4 separate regions of the Homo sapiens genome follow, and regions 1, 2 and 4 are each linked to region 3. Evidence: promoter capture Hi-C in 16 types of primary human blood cells and fetal thymus (Javierre and others, 2016). All regions are on one chromosome and are shown on one strand. The core of a region is centred on a gene start or on the middle of the fragment in contact, and the rest is flanking DNA. Distances in the headings are between cores, read along the strand shown. Region 1 overlaps EXPH5 (exophilin 5). Region 2 has its middle 4.7 kb from the start of EXPH5. Region 3 holds the start of ACAT1 (acetyl-CoA acetyltransferase 1). Region 4 has its middle 21 kb from the start of EXPH5.

The links. The method cuts DNA at HindIII sites, captures the fragments that hold promoters and counts their contacts. A CHiCAGO score of 5 or more calls a contact.
Region 1: a fragment that was not itself captured here is called in contact with the fragment with the promoter of ACAT1 in region 3 in 1 of 17 cell types (total CD4 T cells); the score reaches 5.3 in total CD4 T cells.
Region 2: a contact is called between a fragment that was not itself captured here and the fragment with the promoter of ACAT1 in region 3, in 1 of 17 cell types (naive CD4 T cells). The highest score is 5.9, in naive CD4 T cells.
Region 4: a fragment that was not itself captured here is called in contact with the fragment with the promoter of ACAT1 in region 3 in 4 of 17 cell types (total CD4 T cells, megakaryocytes, naive B cells and 1 more); the score reaches 6.6 in total CD4 T cells.

What each region holds. Positions count from the first base shown.
Region 1 is chr11:108,561,803-108,564,502 of GRCh38, forward strand. All of the region lies in intron 1 of EXPH5 (exophilin 5), which reads right to left. Among named protein-coding and RNA genes, the nearest start is that of EXPH5, 31 kb to the right of the region's middle. RefSeq lists an enhancer at 1,362-1,471. The HindIII fragment of the contact is 4,444 bases long and covers 1-2,700 here.
Region 2 is chr11:108,597,100-108,599,799 of GRCh38, forward strand. It overlaps a transcript of EXPH5 not described here. Among named protein-coding and RNA genes, the nearest start is that of EXPH5, 4.7 kb to the left of the region's middle. The HindIII fragment of the contact is 5,941 bases long and covers 1-2,700 here.
Region 3 is chr11:108,120,317-108,123,016 of GRCh38, forward strand. It overlaps ACAT1 (acetyl-CoA acetyltransferase 1), which reads left to right and starts at 1,251. Exons shown (of 12, transcript NM_000019.4): 1 at 1,251-1,362. The coding sequence starts at 1,291. RefSeq lists silencers at 913-1,451, 1,053-1,462. The HindIII fragment of the contact is 9,706 bases long and covers 1-1,422 here.
Region 4 is chr11:108,613,487-108,616,186 of GRCh38, forward strand. No RefSeq gene overlaps it. Among named protein-coding and RNA genes, the nearest start is that of EXPH5, 21 kb to the left of the region's middle. The HindIII fragment of the contact is 291 bases long and covers 1,109-1,399 here.

The sequences.
Region 1 (2,700 bases), core at 174-2,673, 440 kb after region 3:
AGAGAAGCCATCAGGCACCAGAGTCTTGAACAGGAGGAAGCTATGGGGCAGAGAGGAAACTTGCAAGAAGAAAATCAGCCCTGGCAATGGAAGTGAGTAGGGAGAAGCAGAACAGAGAAGCTGGACCACAAGCCTGTGGTTACTAGCCTGGTTGATTGATTGGCACCAGAATGCTGCAGTATTCTGATCAACATTCCGGTTCCTGAGGACTGGCCGTGCAGGGTTGAGGCCGTTTCCTGTGTTTCCTTACTTCTCCATTAGATCCTGACAATAAAGTGCCACCCATCCCTTGAGGAAACTGCTCTATGTTCCTTGTCACCTGAAAGAACATAATGAAAACATCCAGCCATAAGCAGCATGTAGGAATTTGTTCACAGAGGAATTCTCCAGCATTGATTGGGACAGGAAATTTCAAATGTCAATAAAACTGACTTTGCTTTGCCATTATACAATTTTTTCTGTGTTTTTTTTTTTTTTTTTTTGTAATTGTGAAAGTAAAATTACATCAGGCCGGGCTGGGTGGCTCACGCCTATAATCGCAGCACTTTGGGAGGTCGAGGTGGTGGATCACTTGAGGTCAGGAGTTTGAGACCAGCCTAGCCAACATGGAGAAACCCGTTCTCTACTAAACAACAACAAAAAAAAAGAATACAAAAATTAGCTGGGTATGCTGGTGCATACCTGTAGTCCCAGCTACTAGAGAGGCTGAGGTGGAAGAATTGCTTGAATCTGGGAGGGAGAGGTTGCAGTGAGCTGAGATCGCACCACTGCACTCCAGACTTGGCAGCAGAGCAAGACGCTGTTTCAAAAAAAGAAAGAAAGAAAGTAAAATTACATTCAATGCAAAAGACTTGGAAATTAAAGAAAAAACTTGAAGGGGCCGGGCATGGTGGCTCACACCTGTAATCCCAACACTTTGGGAGGCCGAGGCAGGAGGATCAAGTGAGCCCAGGAGTTCAAGGCCAGCCTGGGCAACATGGTGAGATCCTGTCTCCATTTAAAACAAACAAACAAACAAAAACTTGAATAAAAGAAATCACTCATAACTCCCACTGTCAGAGATACTGCTGTGTGTGTACATATGTTCATTCATGTGTTTTAAAGCAGTAGTCACAGGACTAGGACTCTGACTCAGTTTTAGCTAAAGCATGAAAGCAAGAGATTCAAGACATCTAAGGGAGTTGTGAGAAGACCAATCAGGAGAACTTGCTTTGTGGGATTTTTAAAAACAAACAAAAGCCAAATCTCTCTAGTTAGGGTTTAAGTCCCCTTACATGCATTGACTTGGAAGAGTGAAGACAGAGGGAGGATCTGTGAGGAGGCTTTCTCTAGAGCCAGGGAGCTTAACTGGTACGACTGGAAGAGCTTAATTTTGTCCCTTGTGGTTTGGAGGAAAGGTAGACTGGTATCTGCCTCCTGCCTGAGAAATTTGAGCTGGAGAAACTGGGGCCTGCCAGTTGCTTTGACTGCAGAATGAAGTGCATAGCTCAGCTGTCAATCAGCCCTCATTTCCAGGGTTTCTCAAGCAACCACAGTATGACTGTGTCCCGTGGAGAAGATGTGGGCCCCAGGAGAGGCTGAGGAGGCATGGGGTTCTCTTAGTTCATGCCTGCTAGAGTCAGCTCCAGGGGTGAATAAACCTGAGTAGAAAGAGGTTGTGGGTGAACCCCTGGATTCCTAGCACAGAGCAGGGGAGAGCACATTATCTGCATGGAAAGAGCTGCTGGGGAACAGTGCCGGGCCACGGGCCATCTCAGCAAACCCCAGACGAGCACACAAGAGAAGAGGCAGATTTAAACATCTGCCCTACCCAGAGAGAGTGATGCCACCTCACAACCATTCTAGTCAAGCAACAGCTTTTCTGCATGTGCCTTCCATCCAAACTTAAACCTGCCTCCCAGCCACCGTCCGGTTCAACCCTGGAACAGTAAAAAACCACCACTGAAGGGGTGGAGAGGCAGAGGTTGATGGGGAAAGGGAAAAGGATCAAATCCTCTTCACTGTCCTAGGCGTCGCTCTGCAGCAAGCGGTGGCTGTGTGAGGGGCTGCTCCTCTGAATAAAGCTGGGATTAATCTAGGACCGTATGTTCTAATTATCTCTGAATTGAGACTGTGTTTGTGTCTTAAAGTGACCAGAAAAGTCAAGGGACTGCCTTTGTTTGTATCCAGTGGCATTTAAAGGGATAGTAGGAGACGGCTGCACACGGTGGCTCATGCCTGTAATCCTAGAACTTTGGGAGGCTGAGGCGGACGGATCACTTGAGGTCAGGAGTTCGAGGTCAGCCTGGCCAACATGGTGAAACCCTGTCTCTACTAAAAATACAAAAAAAAATAAATTAGCTGGGCATGGTGGTGGGCATCTGTAACCCCAGTTATTCAGGAGGCTGAGGCAGGAGAATCGCTTGAACCCAGGAGGCAGAGGTTGCAGTGAGCTGAGATCGCACCACTACACTCCAGCCTGGGTGACAGAACAAGACGGTCTAAAAAAATAAAAAAGAAATAAAAGGATAGTAAGAGACAAAACTAAAGATGTTTTCTTGTTATATTCCATGATTCCTACTTGCTCCACATGTCAGTTATGTATGCCTGCATTTTCAAAAAATGCTCTTACCCTATGCATGCTTTGTGTAGTCTATGTTTCCCACTTAGCATTACATTAAGAATGCTATGCTATGTCAGTATTCCACCACTGCATCTCTG
Region 2 (2,700 bases), core at 148-2,647, 480 kb after region 3:
ATCCCCACCACAGGGCTTAGTTTTTTCCATCCTTGACAATCACCAAGCCAAGAGACATGCTGATCACATCACTTGCTTGAATGTCTGATTTTTTTATTTTTATTTTTATTTTTCTTGAGATGGAGTCTCACTCTGTTGGCCAGGCTGGAGTGCAGTGGCTCAATCTCAGCTCACTGCAATCTCCGCCTCCAGGGTTCAAATGATTCTCCTTCCTCAGCCTCCCAATTAGGTGGGATTACAGGCGCACGCCACCGCACCCAGCTAATTTTTGTATTTTTATTAAAGAAGGAGTTTCACTATGTTGGACGGCTGATCTTGAATTCCTGACCTCAGGTGATTTAAATATTAACATAGTTTGCTTTATCATTAGATCAAAGTAATAACACATTATTATCAAAAGTTCTCTGATAAAATTCAAGATTGCTTTTTGTTAGGACTAAACTAAATTGAGCTAAATTTAAAAATACTTGGTAATCCTTTAGAAAGGATTTTTCCTTGATGTGGCAAGGAATGTCTGTCCCAGACAACACCAGTATTATAATTAATGGTGAGTCTGTGAAGTAACAACAAATCAGAGGTACCTGCTATTCCCTGTCTTGTGTAACATTGTTCTGGTAGTTCTAGTTGATACAATAGGGAAGGAAAAAAACAATGTGGTGTAACTCTTAGAAAAGAGAAAATTGATCATAGATGATAATTATCTACTTAGGAAAAAGACCAAAGAAATTTGTTAAAAAAAACCACAAAAACTATTAGAACTAAAGAAGGAGTACGAATTAGTGGCCATGTGTGGCTTCATTCAAAAAATATTTATGGAATGTCTACTATCCATTGGGAAATGTTCTAGGAGCTGTGTAGACAAGATGTTCCTGCGCTCAAAACGTTAGCTTCTAATGCATAGAGGTTAAAAAATAAATAAATAAACAAATCAACATCAATTTAGAGTGTGATAAGTGTTGTGAACCAAGTAAACAGGGTGGAGAATGGGAGGGATGCAGGGAGGGCTCCAGCCAGAGTGGTCAGGCTGGAGACTGACCCGCATGATGAGATGTCATATGAGCTAAAACCTGAAGGATAAGAAGCCAGACATGTGAAGAACTTACGTGTACAAATGTCCTCAAATTGGTTGAATAAAATGTGGGTAGAAAGTAGATGTATGTGCTATTTATAAGTTCTTTTTGAACCTTCATCTTCATCTAAGAAATATTCCACAGAATTCCTTGCCCAGATAATGGGCTTAGTTGTTATGGGCATGTAGTATTTGTTTAACCTGCTGTATGTCAGGCTCTGTGACAGGTGCTGGAAATGCAGAGGCACCAAGGCAAACAGGTCTCTGTCTTCAGGGAGTTTGCACTTCCTTGGAAAGAGACAGATAATACATTAGTAAATAAATAAAAAGATTTACCACGTGTGATAAACGCTATGAAGAAAATTAACAGAGTGATATGGTGGAGAGTAAGTCTGAAGAGGAGGGGATAATCTTACATGGGGTAGTTGGGAAGGGTACCCTGAGGTGACACATAAGCGGTGACCTGAGGGGTGTCAAGGATCCAGCTTTGCTAAGACACAGGAGAAGCGCTTTCCAAGCAGAGGCAAGTGCCAAGATGCTGAGGCAGGAGAGAGATTGGCAGGCTCTGGGCTGATGTCTCTGGACCGTGGTAAATATCCAGAAGAGGGACATAAAAAAGGAGGTTGGAGAAGTAAGTGTGGGCCTGATAACATAAGGGAGCTAGGCCAAGCAAGGGAGTTCAGATTCCATCCTAAGGACGTGGGCTTGGAGTCAGTATCTTTGGTTCAAGCTCTGGCTACACTATTTATTAGCTGTGTGACCTTGGGTAGCCATCTCACCTCCTTCCACCTCATAAGATTGTGCAATTAAATGTGCTAATGTCTGGGAAGTGTGTAGCATATGGTAAGCCCTCCGGAAAAAGAGACGGAGAGAGAGAGAGAGAGAGATCTTCCCAGCTAGGTGGTCAATGGGATTCTGCCCAGTTTCCTCCTCACACCTGGCTGGCTTCTGGGATAATAAAATGAATTTCCAGATGTTACCTCTTCTCTCCCTGCCTCCAAGCTAGAGGAACTCTTTCCTCTGGGCAGAACTCACCTCACATCGTATATGACATAAGGATTAAATGTTTTAAATTGAAAATGTAGCATAATGACACCAAAGTGGTAAAAGAAAAAAAAAAGATATTTGTAATCCTACCATCCTAATTCAAGGACTGTTTCCATATTTTAATATCATTCTAAAGTTCTTTCTCATGTATGCATGTGTATAAAGCTATAGTTATAATCACAATTGTGTATATACATATATACAAATGCATACTCATAACACAGTTGTAATCACAGTGTGCATATTTTGATAAAGGCTTTTAATATTACCATGAAAGACCTCTGTAGATGTCACAACCTAACTGGATTTAAAAAAAGAAACTTCAGTTCTGAAAGTTCTTTGAGAACTTTAAACTGCTTTACAGAAATAAGATTGTTGGTAGTTTTTATGTTACTTCAATAACCAGTTCTGGCATTTTATAGTATTCACTCTTTGAACATTCTTCCTTATAGCAATTCTACCTACTTCCATGTGGTTGCCTTTCTGTTTAGAAGAAGTGCCCTTTCAATAACAATCCTTGTGCAGACATCAAGTAACACCTGGAAAAGAAACCTTTTTGTTTGTTGCTGGGCAGCCTTCTCATC
Region 3 (2,700 bases), core at 1-2,500:
CAAGACCCCTTCTCTATATAAAATAAAAATTAAAAAAATTAGCATGGTGGAGCATGCCTGTAGTCCTAGCTACGTAGCTACTTGGGAAGCAGAGACAGGAGGATCCCCTAGCTACTTGGGAGGCAGAGACAGGAGGATCCCCTGAGACCAGGAGTTTGAGGCTGCAGTGAGATATGATTGCACCACTGTACTCCAGACTGGGTGACAAGAGCGAGACCCTATCTTAAAAAAAAAAAATACTCCAAAACATAATGGCCTAAAATAACAACCATTTGTTTTCTCTCGTTTCTGTGGACCATGAATTCAGACAGCATGGTGGGTATGGCTTGTCTCTGCTCCATGATGTCTGGGGTCTCAGCTGGAGTGGTTGAAGGTTGGGGACTGGAATCACCTGAGGCCTTTTTACCCATATTTGTATCTGGACTGAGCCTGGAATTTGATTGCTTCAAAATATTTTCACGGCTGGGTGTGATGGCTCACGCCTGTAATCCCAGCACTTTGAGAGGCTGAGTCTGGCCGTCTGCTTGAGCCCAGGAGTCAGCAACCAGCCTAGGCAACATAGGGAGACCTAGTCTCTACAAAAAAAAAAAAATACAACAATTTGCTGGGCGTGGTCGCCTGCGCCTGTAATCCCAGCACTTTGGGAGGCCGAGGAGGGAGGCTCACTTGAGTCCAGGAGTTCAAGACCAGTCTGGCCAACATGGTGAAACCCCGTCTCCACAAAAAATACAAAAATTATCTGGTTGTGGAGGCTTTCGCCTGTAGTCTCAGCTACTGGGATGGCTGGGGAGGGAGGATCGCTTGAGCCCTGATGGTCGAGATTACAGTGAGCTGTGGTCACGTCACTGCACTCCAGCTTGGGTGACAGAGTGAGACCTTGTCTCAAAAAAAAAAAAAAAAATCCTAAAATATTTTCATGAGTTTGTGCTGGGTAGGCCTAAGGGAAACATGCTCAGTAAATCGAAAAATCTCGGATTACACATAAACCACCGGCCCCGGCAGGTTAGACTTGGTGGACACGGGAGCCAGCAGCGTGTCAGGTGCTCGTTGACCCCAGCGCCAGTGTCTCCATCCACGTCCTTCACTCGTCAACCTTTCCTGGCCCAGGCTGCGGTGTCCCAGCGCCAGGCTCCGCCCCGCCCTTGGCTGCCGGCCAATCGCCGCCGACTGAGAGGCGACTATTGGAGGAAGCGGGATGGGCGGTGCCCGCGCCGGGCCGCTAGGGGTGCGGGGTTGGGGAGGAGGCCGCTAGTCTACGCCTGTGGAGCCGATACTCAGCCCTCTGCGACCATGGCTGTGCTGGCGGCACTTCTGCGCAGCGGCGCCCGCAGCCGCAGCCCCCTGCTCCGGAGGCTGGTGCAGGTGAGCGGGGTTCGTCCCCACAGCACTCAGACCCGGGATGCGAGGAGTCCCCGCCTCGGAAGCTTCCAGCCCGCGGCCGTTGCGGCTCCCGCGGCCCGGGCGCGCGGCTTAGGCCCCAGGACAGTCACGCGACGGGTTCTGGTCCAAAAACCGCCTAAGTGCTCCGATAACACCCAGGGACTCGCCTATTTTTACAGCGCGTTTCTACTTCCAAGGTCTCGGCGTAATCATCTTAATGAGCGTTACTGGTGTGTCAAACAAGGGCACGTGTCTGGGCGGGCAGGACCGCCAGGATTGGCGCTGGCCCGGCCTGAGCGGTGGGATCGGGGAGAGTCTCTTTGCAGGCCTGTGCAGCTGCTCCCGAGATTTTCTTTAAAACATATTTGTGTGCGTTATTGTCAGGAGAGGTTCCTTTTCTTTTTTAATACAATAGATAATCATTGGGCATACAAGGGGAGAGGGCACCATGTGATCATAACAGATGTTTTTTGGAGCAGCCTGAAATTTATCAGGGAAAACAAATGACTACTCAGATAATACAATAAATTATACTTGACATATGAGCAAAGCTCACATACTGAGGGCGTTCCAAGGGCTGTCGCTCTTCTGACCGTTGTGTTTAGGGAACACAGCAGGGGCAGAGTCTCAAAGAATTTATTCTCCACATGCGTAAGCAAGGGAGTACGCACCACAGATTGTCAGGCAAAGCCTCAGGAATAGGTAGAGACCTTCAGGGTGTGGTTGGTGAAGCTTGAGTTTTCTAGGTCGATGGGGGCAATAAGCTTGGAGATCCAGTTATGTTGTGAGTATGGACTTGACCCTAGTTAAGTAGGGATTGTTGATATGTTTGTTTTTGTTGCAATGGTAGGTCACTCTAGTTCTTACGTCTGGGCGTAGAATAACATTACTTGCACAAGGGTGCTGGCGGTAGGAGCTTTGCAAGAGATTGTAAAAGAACCAGTCTAGGACTTGACAATTAGGGAGTGAGGGTGCGAAGCCAAGGGAAAAGAAAGAGTCTAAAATTGATCCTGGGTGACTGAGATAATAGAAAAGTCACAAGGCGTAGGTTTCCAGGGAAGATGAGTTTTTAGCCTATTTGTTAGTCTCATGGGATGAGTGAAGAAATCACAAGAAAGTAATTAGGTTATCTTGGGTTTCAGTCAGTATTGACTAGGTGACATAGGTGAACTAGGTACTCTAGAGATGTAAAAAAAAAAAGTTCAGAACCTTCTTAATTTATGGTTTAATTAAGATCTTACAATCAGGTTGGTTGAGGTGGCTTATGCCAGTAATCCCAGCACTTTGGGAGGCCGGGGTGGGTAGATCATTTGAGGTCAA
Region 4 (2,700 bases), core at 4-2,503, 490 kb after region 3:
GGCAATCTGCCCACTTCAGCCTCCCAGAGTGCTAGGATTACAGGCATGAGCCACTGTGCCTGGCCTTATGTGGATATTAATGCTGCATTAGGTTTCTCAACATCCCTGCTTCCATTGACAAAGGAGCAATTTCACGCTGTGCTCTGATTAGAAGCACTGGAGATGTCCAACGAGCCTTTAAAGCAGGGGTTCCCAACCTGGGGGCCACACAGCAGCAGGTGAGTTCATATTTTAGAGAAGTCAGAAGTGTTTCTGAGTTTCTATTTCAGAGAAGTCAAGCTATTCATTCTTATATAAGTTATTATCAGATTAAACTTCAAAAACCTTTATACTTCTAGAATGAAAAGTAATTTTAGGTTGGGCATGGTGGCTCACGCCTGTAATCCCAGCCCTTTGGAAGTCTGAGGCAGGAGGATTTGTTGAGCCTGAGAGTTTAAGAACAGCCTGGGCAACACAGGGAGACCCTGTCTCTACAAGAAATTTTTAAAAATTAGCTGGATGTGATGGTGTGTGCCTGTAGTCCCAGCTACTCCCAGCTACTCATGAGGCTGTGGCAGGAGGATGGCTTAAGTCTGGGAGGTCAAGGGTAGGTGACACAGCGAGAGCCTGTCTCAAAACAAAACACAACAAACTTTAAAAAAAAGTGCACAAATAACAAGATTAAGATGATCATACACAGTTTACTTATGTAACTAGTAAAATTTAAGAAGCTGTTATACATTCAGATTTCATTATTGTGTTAATGCTCAGTAAGACATGCCAAATGAATTATTATTGTACTGAACAGGCAGAACATGTATAGCCTACTTGTGCTGATGAGTCATGATTTTTAAGTTTCCGCTTATAATGCGTATCAATCAGTCACTATGTGATGACTAAATTAAAATTGGTAAAAGACCTTATAGCCATTGATAATGGGGGAAGAAATTATGTTTTATGCTCTATTCTTACTCTACCCAGATCATTACCCAATAGTCTAGTCTGGGCCACACTTACAGGGATATATATACAAGTATTGGTTATTTAGTAACTCTCCAGGTCAACAGGTGGCATGAGAAGAAGCTACTTCTGAAAGAAGTATTAAGGATAGTGTCAAGTCAGTTCAAGAAGCTTATGTGAAGGGCCTACCATTAGCCCAGCATGTCAAAGTTGAGAAGTGCATTAATTCATTCACTTATTCATGCATCAACTATATCCTGGACATCTATTGTGTGGAAGACACCTTGTGGGAAGCCAAAATTGCTAAAGATTATTAGCTAGTTGAGAAAACTTAGTTGTGCTGCTGTCTACACAAAAAGGTTGAAAAGGGCTGAAAAAGACAAGTGGCCTATTTCTTTCTTACCAAAGTCCAGGCAAAATGCTTTGCTTATCAACACAGTGCCATATTAATAAGGTTTTAAGCTTTTTTTAAAAAAAAAAAAAACTAAGGCTGGGTGTGGTGGCTCACACCTGTAATCCCAGCACTTTGGGAGGCTGAGGCAGGTGGATCACGAGGTCAGGAGTTGAAGACCAGCCTGGCCAAGACGGTGAAACCCCGTCTCTACTAAAAATACAAAAAATCAGCCAGGCGTGGTGGTGGGCATCTGTAATGCCTGCTACTTGGGAGGCTGACGCAGAGAATTGCTTGAACCCAGGAGGCGGAGGTTGCAGTGAGCCGAGATCACGCCACTGCACTCCAGCCTGGGTGACAGAGTGAGACTTTGTCTCAAAAACAAAACAAAACAAAACAAAACAAAACAAAACAAAACTAAAGTTTTTGGTTTTTTCTGTGATTTGAAGCTCTTTTTTTTCTTTTTATCTTCTTTTTTTTAAATTTAAAAGGTTTTTTCCTTGTTGCTACTATCTAGTCAATTATATTGCTTACGAGATAACAGAATTCATGTTATCTCAAGAGCAACTGTCATGCTGATTGTGTTAGGAGAGGCTTTTCCAAGGGAAAACTTTTTTCTCTCATCCTCACTTCCAATAGCTATTCACAATAATTTAGGGCATGTTATTTGAGTGAATATTTAATTTAGGAATAAATATAACTCCTAATAATGCATACAAAAGATTTATGAAGTGAGAGAAAATACTTATGACATTTCTTCCATGGTCATAAAACTAAAATATATTTGTACATAAAGAGCATTTATTAATTTTTTTTTTTTTTTTTTTGAGACGGAGTCTCACTCTTTCGCCCAGGCTGGAGTGCAGTGGCGCGATCTCCGCTCACTGCAAGCTCCGCCTCCCGGGTTCACGCTATTCTCCTGCCTCAGCCTCCGGAGTAGCTGGGACTACAGGCGCCCGCCACCACACCTGGCTAATTTTTTGTATTTTTAGTGGGGATGGGGTTTCACCGTGTTAGCCAGGATGGTCTCGATTTCCTGACCTTGTGATCCGCCTGCTTTGGCCTCCCAAAGTGCTGGGATTACAGGCGTGAGCCACCGTGCCCGGCCCAAGATTATATAAATTTTAAAAAGCAAATAGCTGGGCACGGCGGCTCACACCGGTAATCCCAGCACTTTTGGAGGCCAAGACAGGCTGTTTGCTTGAGCCCAGGAGTTCAAGACCAGTCTGGGCAACATGGCGAAACCCCGTCTCTACTAAAAATGCAAAAATTAACCGGGCGGGGTGGTGCACACCTGTGGTCCTAGCTACTTGGGAGGATAAGGTGGGAGAATAGCTGGAACCTGGGAGGCAGACCGAGCCAAGATCACG